Linked DNA regions of Homo sapiens: all the other regions are linked to region 2. Evidence: promoter capture Hi-C in human tissues and cell types (Jung and others, 2019). All regions are on one chromosome and are shown on one strand. Each heading gives the region's core, a stretch centred on a gene start or on the middle of the fragment in contact. The rest is flanking DNA. Distances are from core to core; before and after follow the strand shown. Region 1 holds the start of RBX1 (ring-box 1). Region 2 holds the start of POLR3H (RNA polymerase III subunit H). Region 3 holds the start of DNAJB7 (DnaJ heat shock protein family (Hsp40) member B7). Region 4 overlaps SLC25A17 (solute carrier family 25 member 17).

Region 1 (3,319 bases), core at 683-3,182, 590 kb after region 2:
AGTTTAAAATAATTTAGTCTGGCCGGGTGCAGTGGCTCACGCCTATAGTCCTAGCATTTTGGGAGGCCGAGGCGGGCCGATCACTGAGGTCAGGAGTTCAAGACCAGCCTGGCCAACATGGCAAAATCCTATCTTTACTAAAAATACAAAAATTAGCCAGGCCTGGTGGCGGGTGTCTATAATACCAGCTGTTTGGGAAGCTGAGGCAGGAGAATCGCTTGAATCTGGGGGACGGAGGTTGCAGTGAGCCAAGATCGTGCCACTGCACTCCAGCCTGGGCGACAGAGTGAGACTCCATCTCAAAAAAAAAAAAAAAAAAAAAAAAAGGGCACAAACTTGAATTTCTGTGCAGGTTTTGGTGGCAGTTGCAGAAGAGCTCAAAATCTGAATAAGTATCTGCTCTACACAGCTCTGGAAGCATGAGCAATGAAGTGAAAGCTAGAGAACAGAATGAACTAAGATAATGACTGGATCATAAAATGGGTAATCATGGGATAAGCTGGATAATTAAATACCCGTGTCAGTACACAGAACAAGGTCATCACTTAAATCTTAGATTACTTCATAACAAATTCTACAATTCACTAGAATTTTGATTCTTACCATAAAATAAACTGATGTTCTCAACTTTTATATGTTTAGACTCTTCTATTAAGATAATAATTCCAGTAAGAGTTTAACAGAATTTCATTCATTCAACTCTGGCTTCCTCAATTACAAATACTCCCAAACCTTCTTCGCTTTCAAACCCCATTCTCAGTGCCTAGTAACTTCTTTACCACTTTTCACATCACAGCTTCAAGGTGGAGGAAAAGCCCCTACTTCTATTATTTTTCAATATGGCTGCTGGCTGTAACTGAGCAGCAGTGGCCACAATGAGACACCAAAAAGCACTAGGACGGGGGATATTGTCAGTGTTTAGCCAGATGTTCTAGGAATATCTTCCCTATTTTAGAATCTCCATTTTGAACAGCTTTCATGTTAGGTGAGAATCGATACTGTTCTCCCAAACTGTGGCAAACCACTAAAAGGCATTTCATGCAAAAAGACACGTTCCATTTTTGCTTTCCCACGCTTACCAAGTCGTTCGCGACTAGTACTCAACCCTCCCTAACTGCCACAGGATTTGGGCTCGGATTTTCTTAACAAGTTCCACCATGCTTTTTATTATTATTTTGGAAGGGGGAGATTCTGGACGTGACAGAGAACCCAAGAGTGGGGTGGTTGTGTGAAAAGCCAACAGACGTCTCAGAAGAGCCAAGCATTACACTCCAGACTCTAACCAGGCAGTGTGAGGCCTCGGTTCAGCGAGGATCCCTCCAAGTGAGAGGACCCCTCCAAGTGAGAGGACCCCAAGCTTCAAAAAGGGGCGGAGCAAGATCACCAAGGGGGGTCCTCAGAGGCCTCTAATGCGGTAGGACCTCAGGTTCCAGGCTCTCGCCGCACTGCCCCATCCTCCACCGCCGCATTCGCTTCGACTCCCCATTCCACCCACCCCACCCCACCCTACCCTGTCCTTCCCCCACCTCTCAACCACTCCAGTGACAGCTCAAGCGCTTGGCTCCCGCCGCCAAGTCGCAACCCCGCGTATCTCAATAAGCAGCTCTGTGATTGGCCCCTTAGCCTCACAGCGAAACCAACACTTCCCCCAACAGTGGGCCGCCGTCACGCCGATCAACTCTAAGACCCGCCCCCCGGCTTCCTTTCGTGGTACCCGGTCCCAGGAACGCCCTGAAATGAAACCCTTTACTCCGCGCCTCGACCATCCTCGGGCCTGCCAGCCAGATCCGCGCCTCTCTAGCTTCCCTGAGGAAGGCGCTGGCGAGACCCAACCTTTTTCACTTCAAAGCGCTTCTTGCCCGCGCCGCTGTTGGTGCCGCTCGGGGTATCCACATCCATCGCTGCCGCCATTTTGGAAACACACGGTCTGTCGTCCGACCACCGCGCCTGCGCAGCAGCGCACACTTCGCTCCCCCCACCTCCCCGGCACCTCCTCCCGCACCCCACCCCTTACTGGCGCGCGAGGCGGAGGTGGGGGCGGAGCACGTGACCACGCCTCTTAAAGGGGCTGTCGCAGGTCGCCCCACCCGCGAACTGTAGGCCGGGGAGGGGGCGGTGGCCGGAGTGGGTGGGGCGGGGCCGGGCGGGGCCGGGCGGGGCCGAGGCTACGTGAGCTAGCCGGGTGGAAACGTTCGAAAGGGCTCGACGTCGCCGCCTCCTCTGGGAAGCCCCCGGCCGCACTCCGTCAGCTGGGGCGGCGGCTGCTTCCTCCGCCTGAGCCAGACCTGCGCCGCAGTCCTGTCCTGCCTGCCGGGCTCGCCGAGTCGCCGCGCGGCTCCCGGTGCTGGCGTGGGTGGGCGCCCGCGGCCTGCCCCGAAACCCAAGAGTCCTCGCTGGTCTTTCGCAGACTCTGACCCGCTTCCGAGCCAGGCCCAAGGTGCAGTCCCCGTGGGAGGGCTGGGGCCCAGGCACCGTCTGGTCTCCGATTTCTGTTCGGGAACTGCTCAGGGATTCGATGGGGAGAGAGGAGACCCCCGAAGTTCCTCCCTAAGGCCACACTGAGCAGGCCCCCAGCCCTGCCTTTACTCGCCCGCCAAGCCTGGGGGGTGGCCTCTGCGCCCACATAGTCGCAGTCCTAGGACCGCCTTTGGTCGTGGTGCACGGTTTCACCGTAACGTGTGTCAGTCCCCACTCCGCATTCCTCAGTTGTCATCTTTGTAGGGTGATTTCTCCCCGATCTGTGTCCTTTTTCCGCTGCTTGTGCTGTAGTGAAACCGACCCATCTGCAGTCGCTGTATTTCTTGAATTTTTGTGAGGCATTCTTTTTTAACTCTTGTTGCCCAGGCTGGAGTGTAATGGCGCGATTTCGGCCCACTGCAACCTCCGCCTCCAGGATTCAAGCGATTCTCCTGCCTCAGCCTCCCGAGTAGCTGAGATTACAGGCGCCCGCCACCACGCCCGGCTAATTTTTTGTATTTTTAGTAGAAACGGGGTTTCACCACGTTAGCCAGGCTGGTCCCGAACTCCTGACCTCAGGTGATCCGCCTGCCTCGGCCTCCCAAAGTGCTAGAGCCGCTTTTTTTTTTTTTCTTTTTTAATTTTTTTAAAAAATAGAGACAAGGTCTCACTATGTTGCCTAGGCTGGTCTCGAACTCCTGGGCCCAAGTGATCCTCCCACTTCGGCCTCCCAAAGTGCTGGGATCACAGGAGTGAGCCATCCCACCCGACCCAAGCACCTGTACTTTGTCACTCTCCCATTTCTGGCTAGACCAGGACTCCCTTTGACATCTCTAACCTTGCAGAGGTGTGACTCTGCCAG
Region 2 (3,040 bases), core at 447-2,946:
TCCTAGGAATGTGTTAGGGGATTGTGGGAATAAAGAGCTGAAGTAGCATTTGCTGCTGTCCTCAAGTACCTCAAATCCTATAGAAGCACACCTAAAAATAAAATCATAGATGCAGGGAAGGCCACATTTAGCATCACTGCAGCCAGTGTCACTGAGAGATCACTATGCTTGTGAAATCAGCAAATTAAGGCACCATACATTTCCAAGTGCCTCTGTCATTTACCCCAAGTATCTTTTGTAAGTACCTAAATTGTTATTTTGGTTAAAACACACTACAAGCCCGGGCGCGGTGGCTCACACCTGTAATCCCAGCACTTTGGAAGGCTGAGGTGGGCAGATCATGAGGTCAGGAGATCGAGACCATCCTGGCTAACACGGTGAAACCTCGTCTCTACTAAAAAAAAATACGAAAAATTAGCCAGGCGTGATGGTGGGCGCCTGTAGTCTCAGCTACTCGGGAGGCTAAGGCAGGAGAATGGCGTGAACCCGAGAGGCGGAGCTTGCAGTGAGCCAAGATCGCGCCACTGCACTCCAGCCTGGGCGACAGAGCGATCCTCCGTCTCAAACAAACAAACAAACAAAAAAACCCACTACAGTATACATCTACACCCCACCAATTTTTAGAGGCAGGGTAGTGAGGTTCAGACTGGGCCCACCTCTACCACTTGTCAACACGTGATCTTGGGTAAGCTACCAAATTCTCTTAGCCCATGCTATCACGTGAAGATGAATGAGACTGGAATGTCAGCGAGACAGAGCATGATGGGGCTATAGGAGGGGGGTATGGTCAGATCTTGCAGGGCCGTGTGAACTACCATAAAGGTTTTGGACTTTTCTTCTTTCTTTCTTCTTTTCTTTCTTCTTTCCCTTTTCTTTCTTCTTTCTTCTTCTTCTTCTCCTTCTTCTTTCTTCTTCTTCCGCCTCTCCTTCTTCTTCTTTTTCGTTTAGACATGAGGTGTCACTGTCACCCATGCTAGAGTGCAGCATGCAACCTCAAACTGCAACCTCAAACTCCTGGACTCAAGCGATGCTGCTGTCTCAGGCTTCTGAGTAGGTGGGACTACGGGTGTACACCACCACGCCCGGCTTGGATCTAGTATTCTAAGTTCAATGGGTTGTGTTTTTTGTTCCAATTTATTATAACTTTTCAATTGGAACATAATGTCTACAAATAAATGCAAAAATCTTGCCGAGTTCAATTAGTTTGGACAATTATATACGTCAATGTTATACCACCGAAAACAAAATACAGAACATTTCCATCATCTCAGAACAGTCCCAAGTGCCCCTTTCCTGCTAATTCTCCTTGTCTCCGGAACACTTAAGGGTGCTAAGCATGTTATGTTTGCGGTGGGTTTTTTTTTTAACTTAGATGTGGTAATATATGTTTGCGTTTCCAAAGGATCACTCTGGCTGCCGAGCAGAGGACAGCAATGCGGGTAAAGCACAGGCCAGGCGAGGGATAATCAGGCGGGATTGCACGGAGGTCGCCTAGCAACAGAAAGCGCTGTCGGGGGCGGGGGAACCGCTCTGCTCCTGTGAAAGGAGGAGGCCCCGCCCTCTCCTCGCCCTCTCTCTGCCCCACGCTGTGCGCGAGCACACAGGCAGCCCCGCCCCGCCTCGGCGGGGTGGGGGTGGACAGAGGTTTCTTATTGGTGAGTTTTCCGGAAGCGATGGATTCGGAATCTCGCCCGCAGTCGCGCAAGCGCGAGCGGCTGTGCGCGGTGCGTGGTGCGTGGTGCGTGATACGAGCGGCGGCACGTGGCGCGGGTGCGGGGCGTGGAGTGGCGTGGCGTGGAGTGGCGTGGCGTGGCGGGGTCTCGCGGCGCGGGCGCGCACCCGGAGCTGTGGACGGAGAGTGCCTCCCTCTGGCCTCAGTTTCCTCATGTTGTAGTAGCGGAGCATGGCCCGGACCGGGCCCCCGAGACCGCCCCGTGCAACCTCACCGCCAGCCTGGGGGCCTCAGCGACTGGGACGGGACCAAGGGGCTCGGGGATTCTCCCTGCCCCCGGCCCTGGTGCGTGACTGACCCTCCTGTTCCCAGAGCCCCCAGCGCAGGCCGGGATGTTCGTCCTGGTGGAAATGGTGGACACCGTCCGGATCCCCCCTTGGCAGTTTGAGAGGAAGCTCAACGACTCCATTGCCGAGGAGCTGAACAAGAAGTTGGCCAACAAGGTACTGGGCCCACGGCTCGCGGGCAGGCCTTGGCGTGGGAGAGCGAGCGCCGCCCACTGGCCGCAGGCCCGGCCTCGGTCATGCCAAGCCCTGGCCGTGGGCAAGCAGCTTAATGTCTCAGAACTTTTCTTCACCGTGAAAGGAGATATTGAAGGGGATCAAAAGAAAATGGGCTTGAAAAAGGGAGTTGTAACTGGAAGTGTTAGATTCCACAATTCTAAATTACTTTGCAATTGCAGGCAAGTTACTGACCCCTTCTGGGCCTCAGTTTCCATTTTTAAAATGGGGATAAAATATTGCTGTCCTTCCAGCCATGCATTGTTTTTGTTGTTGTTGTTGTTTGTTTTGTTTTGTTTTGTTTTTTGTTTTTGAGACGGAGTCTTGCTCTTTCGTCCAGGCTGGAGTGCAGTGGCGCGATCTCGGCTCACTGCAACCTCCGCCTCCCGGGTTCAAGCGATTCTCCTGCCCCAGCCTCCCGAGTAGCTGGGACAACTACAGGCGCGCGCCACCACCCCCAGCTAATTTTTGTATTTTTCGTAGAGACGGGGTTTCACCATTTTGGCCAGGATGGTCTCGATCTCTTGATCCCCCCGCCTCGGCCTCCCAAAGTGCTGGGATTACAGGTGTGCGCCATCGCCTCGGGTCAATGCATTGTTTTCGTGAAGATGGAGAGTTCTAGTAGTACAGAATTAACTGTCAGGAGGTTCATCCCTTCATTCCAGCAGCCAATATTTGTGCGCCTTCTCTGTGCTGTGCCTGTGTGCCTTAGTACCAGCTGAGAGGTCTTCCCACTGCCGTTTCTTTGACAGTCCTCCCTTTCCAGGTATTCTGTGTCACATCACTCTCTTTCCTTCTTAGACTTTTT
Region 3 (3,440 bases), core at 941-3,440, 680 kb after region 2:
AATGACAGTAACCTCTGATTGTCCTCACTGCTACACTCCCACCAGCACCCCAAGAGTTTACAGATGCCATGGCAACGTCAGGAAGTTACCCTATATGGTCTGAAATGGGGAAGCATGAATAATCCACTTCCTGTTTAGGATATAATCAAGAAATAACCATAAAAATGGGCAACCAGCAGCCCTTGGGGCTGCTCTGCCTATGGAGTAGCCATTCTTTATTCCTTTACTTTCTTAATAAACTTGCTTTTACTTTACTCTGTGGATTCCACTGAAATTCTTTCTTGCACGAGATCCAAGAACCATCTCTTGGGGTCTGGATTGGGACCCCTTTCCGGTAACAGCAGGTTCTCAGTATCTGTTTGTGGAATGCCTAGAACCTAAACTCTTTAAGTCCTAGTCCGAGAAATGCAGTAGAGTGGAATGAGAACTTGAAATTAGACTCAAGTTTAAAAATCAGATTTTTCACTAACAAGCTATGTAGCCTTAGACAAATTACTTTCTCTCTCAGAACGTCTGTTTTCTTATGGGCATAAAATATTTATTTTGCTAGAGTGCTGTGTCAGTTAAATGAGCACTTGCTACAGTGTGACTCAGAGGGTACTCAAATAATTTTCGACATTATTGGTTATTATTTCCAGTGGTAGGCAAATTATAATCATGGGTAAGCCACACATAAGTACATGTAAGCACATACACTGGAGAGAATTTAAATTGAGTTTTAAGCATTTCACAATACCTCTAAAAAATGAGTATATATAAAAATGCAAAGCAAAAAAATATTCAGACCTGACAAATGGTCTTGAAAGACTAGAAGCATACACTACAGTTTTAGATTTCATTAGCGTATCATTTAACTGAGGGGTTATAAATGTGATGGAAAATAAAATAAACACAACATAGAGGAGGAAAAACAAAGATTACAGGGAATTTTCTCAGACAATAAAATGAGCCAGGTATAGAATATAAGACCTTTAAATTCGGGTCTAGACTACTGGTAGTTTATCCCCAAAGAAAATCACCTTTGGTCTGTTTCTAATTTGGCTCTCGAATTCTACTTTCCCATACATGACTGAATTTCCAAATAGTAGCCACTGATCCATTACAAATGTAAATCACATCATTAAACTTGCATATTCCCCACTCCCCACAAAGGCTTCCCACTGTACTTGAAATAAGTGCTAGCTTTATGTCCAACAGCCCCAACTGGCAACAACCAAAATGTCCATCAACATGGCCAGTGGCTACCATATTAGATCACTATGTGGCTGACTGTCATATAGGTCTCAGCAATAATGTCATCTCCTCAGAAGCCTTCTAAAACCAATCTAAAGTAGCGCTCTGCCCCCAGCACATTGCTATTTTTTTTGGAGCACATATCGCATTATCTTAAATTATTTTATTTGTTCTCCTATTTGTATTCTATTATAATGCAAGCACCAGGAAAACTGGTGTCTTTTGTTCAATACTGCTATCACCAGTGGCTAAAACGGTGCCTGGCACAAAGTAGACAATCAATAATTATACAGTGAATACATAAACACACAACTTTCCAAATCTTTAATTACATGTTTTACAGCAGTAAACCTTGGGTGGACAAAGATACTATAATCTCAAATGACTTACCACTGGCATGCAGAAAGTTAACATATCAGGCTACTTCCTCCAAGAGGCTTTCATTGACACCCCCAGCCTGAGCTGTCTCTCATATAATTGTTTAGCATCCAGTACTTCCTCTCATCATAACTATTATATTGTAACTAAGTTACTTGTTTGTATCTCCCTCTGAACTGTTTCTTGACTGAAATAAATATGTCAACTGTTTGAATACTTTCTTCACCCGTAAGTCAGTACTTCATTTTTCTAAACCAAAGCATAGAAGAGCTGGGAAGCAATTAAGGCGCAGTAATCTAGAGGTCATATTATGCAAGGGATATGCTGTGGCTATTAGCAACAGATTCCATTGGCTTATGAGGCACTGCCTGAAGCTTCCAGGGAAACATACAGGGGAAACAGTCCAGAGGATTCAGGATGGTCTGGTACGACTCTGGACTAGCTCTATTTGGAAGGTCCAGTCCCTACACTGACCCCAGAATGACACCATAATGCAGCCCTCTCTGACATATTTGTAACTCTGCTTGCCACATAATCAGTATCCTCATCTCTTAGCACATGGTAATAACATTGTCTTTAACATAAAAGTGTACCTATTTGCAGTCACTACCTCTATCACCACCACCAGCAGAGCCTGAGCTGAGGAAACCACGGTTCTCAATACCCAGCACACCCACTTCCAACTATCTGTTAAAACATGGTGGATTACTATGAAGTTCTAGGACTGCAAAGATATGCTTCACCTGAGGACATTAAAAAAGCTTATCATAAAGTGGCACTTAAATGGCACCCTGATAAAAATCCAGAAAATAAAGAAGAAGCAGAGAGAAAATTCAAAGAAGTAGCTGAGGCATACGAGGTATTATCAAATGATGAGAAACGGGACATTTATGATAAATATGGCACAGAAGGATTAAACGGAGGTGGAAGTCATTTTGATGATGAATGTGAGTACGGCTTCACATTCCATAAGCCAGATGATGTTTTTAAAGAAATTTTTCATGAAAGGGATCCATTTTCTTTTCACTTCTTTGAAGACTCGCTTGAGGACCTGTTAAATCGTCCAGGAAGCTCCTATGGAAACAGAAACAGAGATGCAGGATACTTTTTCTCCACTGCCAGTGAATATCCAATTTTTGAGAAATTTTCTTCATATGATACAGGATATACATCACAGGGTTCATTGGGGCATGAAGGCCTTACTTCTTTCTCTTCCCTGGCTTTTGATAATAGTGGGATGGACAACTACATATCTGTTACAACTTCAGACAAAATCGTTAATGGCAGAAATATTAATACAAAGAAAATTATTGAAAGTGATCAAGAAAGAGAAGCTGAAGATAATGGAGAGTTGACATTTTTTCTTGTAAATAGTGTGGCCAATGAAGAGGGCTTTGCAAAAGAATGCAGCTGGAGAACACAGTCATTCAACAACTATTCACCAAATTCTCACAGCTCCAAACATGTATCTCAATATACTTTCGTGGACAATGATGAGGGAGGTATATCTTGGGTTACCAGCAACAGAGATCCCCCTATTTTCTCAGCAGGAGTCAAAGAGGGTGGTAAGAGGAAAAAAAAGAAGCGTAAAGAGGTGCAAAAGAAGTCTACCAAAAGGAATTGTTAAATTGACTCTTCAAATATATAACATTTGAACACAATTGTGTGTGTTTTGGTTAATCACAAATTTTGTAGATAACACTTAATACTATACTAAGAGCTTTTCAACACTTTTAGCAGGATTGTGGACATTTGGTTAGTAGTTTTTTTGAATGGGTATGTCAGAAAAGGATGAGTTTGTGGTGACAGTTGGTGCTAATAAGAATTTG
Region 4 (3,139 bases), core at 86-2,585, 730 kb after region 2:
ATAAGTTAAAAAGAAAGAGAGAGAGAGAGAGAGAGAAAGAAAAAGAGAAAAAGAAAGAAATCCAGGTGTCAGTTCAGAATTGTTCACAAAAAAGAGGAACCCCCAAATCCCCAAGAACTTAGGCTAAAAATCGTTTATGTGACTGATACAGTTTGGATGTTTGACCCCTCCAAATCTCAGTTTGGATGTTTGACCCCTCCAAATCTCATGTTGAAATGTGACCCCCAGTGTTGGAGGTGAGGCCTAGTGGGAGGTGTTTGGGTCATGGGGGCAGATCCCTCATAAATGGCTTGGTGCCATCCCCTTGGTGATGAGTGAGTTCTCACTGTTAGTTCATGGGAGAGCTGGTTATTTAAAAGAGCCTGGTACCCACGCCTCTCTCTCTTACTCCCTCTCTTACCATGTGACATACCTGTTCCCCTTTCACCTTCCACCATGATCATAAGCCACCTGAGGCCCTCACCAGAAGCAGATGCCAGCACTGTGCTGGCTCATACCTGTAGTCTCAGCTACTCAGGAGTCTGAGGCTGGAGAATCACTTGAGTCTGGGAAGCCAAGGTTGCAGTGAGCCACGATTGCACCACTGCACTCCAGCCTGGGCGACAGAATGAGACCCTGTCTCAAAAAAAAAAGAAATCTAGAAATAAAATGACTACAATTTAAAAGTTACTGCACGATTGGCCAGGCTCATTGACTCACTCCTGTAATCCCAGCACTTCGGGAGTCTGAGACGGGTAGATCACTCGAGGCCAGGGGTTTGAGACCAGCTTGACCAACACAGTGAAACCGCATCTCTACTAAAAAAAAAAACAAAAATTAAAAATAAAAGTTAATACATGATAATCATGGGAACACTGAATATTGATTTAAGCAAAAATCTTAACTATTAGAAGGATGGAGAGAATAAAGAGAGGGATTCAAGACCAGCCTGGGCAACATGGCAAAACCCTGTCTCTACAAAAAATACAAAAATTAGCTGGGTGTGGTGGCTCACGTCTGTGGTCCCAGCTACCTGGGAGGCTGAGGTGAGAGGATTAATTGACCTCCACCCAGAGGTGGAGGTTGCAGTGAGCTGAGATTGTGCCACTGCACTCCAGCCAGGGCAATAGAGTGAGACCCTGTCTCAAAACAATAACCACAAAAAAAGAGGGAATGTGGTATAAGAGAGCTGAATTCTCATTCCCCATAAGAGAATGTAAATAATGTCTAAAAATGATTAATAAGATATCAGTATATTATTATATGGAGATGTATAAATTCCAAAACAAACAACTAGAAGAATTTAATTGCCTCTCTGAAGGAAGATTGGATAAAATAGAGAGGAGTGGGGCAAAAACTGCTATATTTTGTCATTTATACTATGTGATTTTTTAAACTATGTGCATGCTTTGCTTTGATCGATTAAAAATTTACTATTAGAATATTTAATGCTCGGTGGCTTACGCCTGTAATCCTAGCACTCTGGGAGGCCAAGGTGGGCGGATCACCTGAGGTTGGGAGTTTGAGGCTAGCCTGACCAACATGGAGAAACCGTGTCTCTACTAAAAACTCAAAATCAGCCGGGCGTAGTGGCGCATGCCTGTAATCCCAGCTACTCAGGAGGCTGAGGCAGGAGAATCACTTGAACCCGGGAGGCGGAGGTTGCAGTGAGCTGAGATTACGCCATTGCACTCCAGCCTGGGCAACAAGAGTGAAACTCTGTCTCAAAAAAAAAAAAAAAAAGAATATTTAATGCATAGCTATGAATTTGTTAATTGTTGAAGCTTAGTGATATGTTCAGATTCAAGCACAGATTTCTGAACATATTAGATACAGCTGAAGATGCAATTAATGCACTAAAAGATAGGGACCACCAGTATACAAAAAGACACTGTTAGCACTCTGGAGATTCCAAGGGTCTTGGATGCTCTTGTATCAGGAACCAGGGACTAAGACACTATTATAACAAAAGACATTCCTATCATTCAGGAAATTACAAGAATTTTACCAGGAGCTCTGTGTCAGGAGCCTAGGATGAGGACCAGATATATACTTTGCATCATAATATCACAGCCCATCATTTTAAAAAAACCCTAATAAATGATCATCTGTAAGACATTAATTGTAGGATATAATTAATATCCTATATAATATATAGCTTCCTGGAGGTATTTACCTTTTTATAGAGTTTTCCTGGAAAGGACAGTGGCCAACCCAGAGGTAGTGTGATGATGTCAGGTTAGATGATAGTATATAATAATGAAGTTTGTTAATAATGTATTTTTTTTGTAGTTAATGGCCTCTGTTCAAACTATACTCATAGGACCCATTCACACTCCTAAAAATTTTCACCAACCCCAGAGTCTTGCTTATGTGGTTATAACAATCAATATTATTGTGTTAGAAATTAAAACTGAGAAATCATTGAGATATTTGGTTTTGTTTTTTGGTTTTTTTTTTGAGACAGGGTCTCACTGTGTACCCAGGCTGGAGTGCAGTGGCACAATCTCAGCTTACTGTAGCCCCAACAGCCCAGGCTCAAGCAATTCTCCCACTTCAGCTTCCCAAGTAGCTGGGATTACAGGCGTGCACCACCACGCTGGCTAATTTTTTTTTTTTTAATTTTTTTGTAGAGACTGGGTTTCTACATGTTTCACCATGTTGCTCAGGCTGGTCTCGAACTCCTGGGCTCAAGCAATCCGCCCACCTCGGCCTCCCAAAGTGGGGTTACAGGTGTGAGCCTTTTTGTTTGTTTGTTTTTTTAAAGAGATGTGGTCTATGTTGTTGGCCATGGTGGTCTTGAACTCTTGGCCTCAAGCAGTCTTCCTACCTCGCCCTCCCAAAGTGCTAGGATTACAGGCATGAGCCACTGAGCCCGGCCAAGATATTTGTTAATTCATTAAAAATCATTAAAAATACATTAGCTGGGTGTGGTTGCTCATACCTAAAATTCCAATGTTGTCTCGCCTCTACAAAAAAAAAAAGGTAAAATACATCCATTACATGTTAACATACATAAGCTATATTTTTTAAACCATATTTTCCAAAACGTCATAAGATGAATGGCATTGATGTATAGTTTTGCAAACCTCTCTTTGACTTGATAGAAGATAGCTGGATCCTTTTATCTGCTTCTGAATTCAGTCTGTTGCAATATCAC

What was found. The method cuts DNA at HindIII sites, captures the fragments that hold promoters and counts their contacts. A contact is called where the count stands out against the background at its distance.
Region 1: the fragment with the promoter of RBX1 here is called in contact with the fragment with the promoter of POLR3H in region 2 in 2 of the 25 tissues and cell types used here (dorsolateral prefrontal cortex and spleen).
Region 3: a contact is called between the fragment with the promoter of DNAJB7 here and the fragment with the promoter of POLR3H in region 2, in 1 of the 25 tissues and cell types used here (dorsolateral prefrontal cortex).
Region 4: a fragment that was not itself captured here is called in contact with the fragment with the promoter of POLR3H in region 2 in 2 of the 25 tissues and cell types used here (dorsolateral prefrontal cortex and hippocampus).

The regions. Positions count from the first base shown.
Region 1 is chr22:40,949,991-40,953,309 of GRCh38, reverse strand. RBX1 (ring-box 1) reads right to left here and starts at 1,932. Exons shown (of 5, transcript NM_014248.4): 1 at 1,834-1,932. The coding sequence starts at 1,911. RefSeq lists enhancers at 612-1,200, 1,656-1,865, 2,380-2,970 and a silencer at 1,916-2,495. The HindIII fragment of the contact is 18,244 bases long and covers 1-3,319 here.
Region 2 is chr22:41,543,126-41,546,165 of GRCh38, reverse strand. It overlaps POLR3H (RNA polymerase III subunit H), which reads left to right and starts at 1,696. Exons shown (of 6, transcript NM_001018050.4): 1 at 1,696-2,175. The coding sequence starts at 2,065. RefSeq lists silencers at 1,506-1,605, 1,796-1,925 and enhancers at 1,976-2,065, 2,076-2,175, 1,498-2,335. The HindIII fragment of the contact is 26,348 bases long and covers 1-3,040 here.
Region 3 is chr22:40,860,863-40,864,302 of GRCh38, reverse strand. It overlaps DNAJB7 (DnaJ heat shock protein family (Hsp40) member B7), which reads left to right and starts at 2,190. Exons shown (of 1, transcript NM_145174.2): 1 at 2,190-3,440. The coding sequence starts at 2,309. The coding sequence ends at 3,238. All of the region lies in intron 1 of XPNPEP3 (X-prolyl aminopeptidase 3), which reads right to left. The HindIII fragment of the contact is 4,259 bases long and covers 1-3,440 here.
Region 4 is chr22:40,808,931-40,812,069 of GRCh38, reverse strand. All of the region lies in intron 1 of SLC25A17 (solute carrier family 25 member 17), which reads left to right. Among named protein-coding and RNA genes, the nearest start is that of MIR4766, 3.5 kb to the left of the region's middle. The HindIII fragment of the contact is 9,431 bases long and covers 1-3,139 here.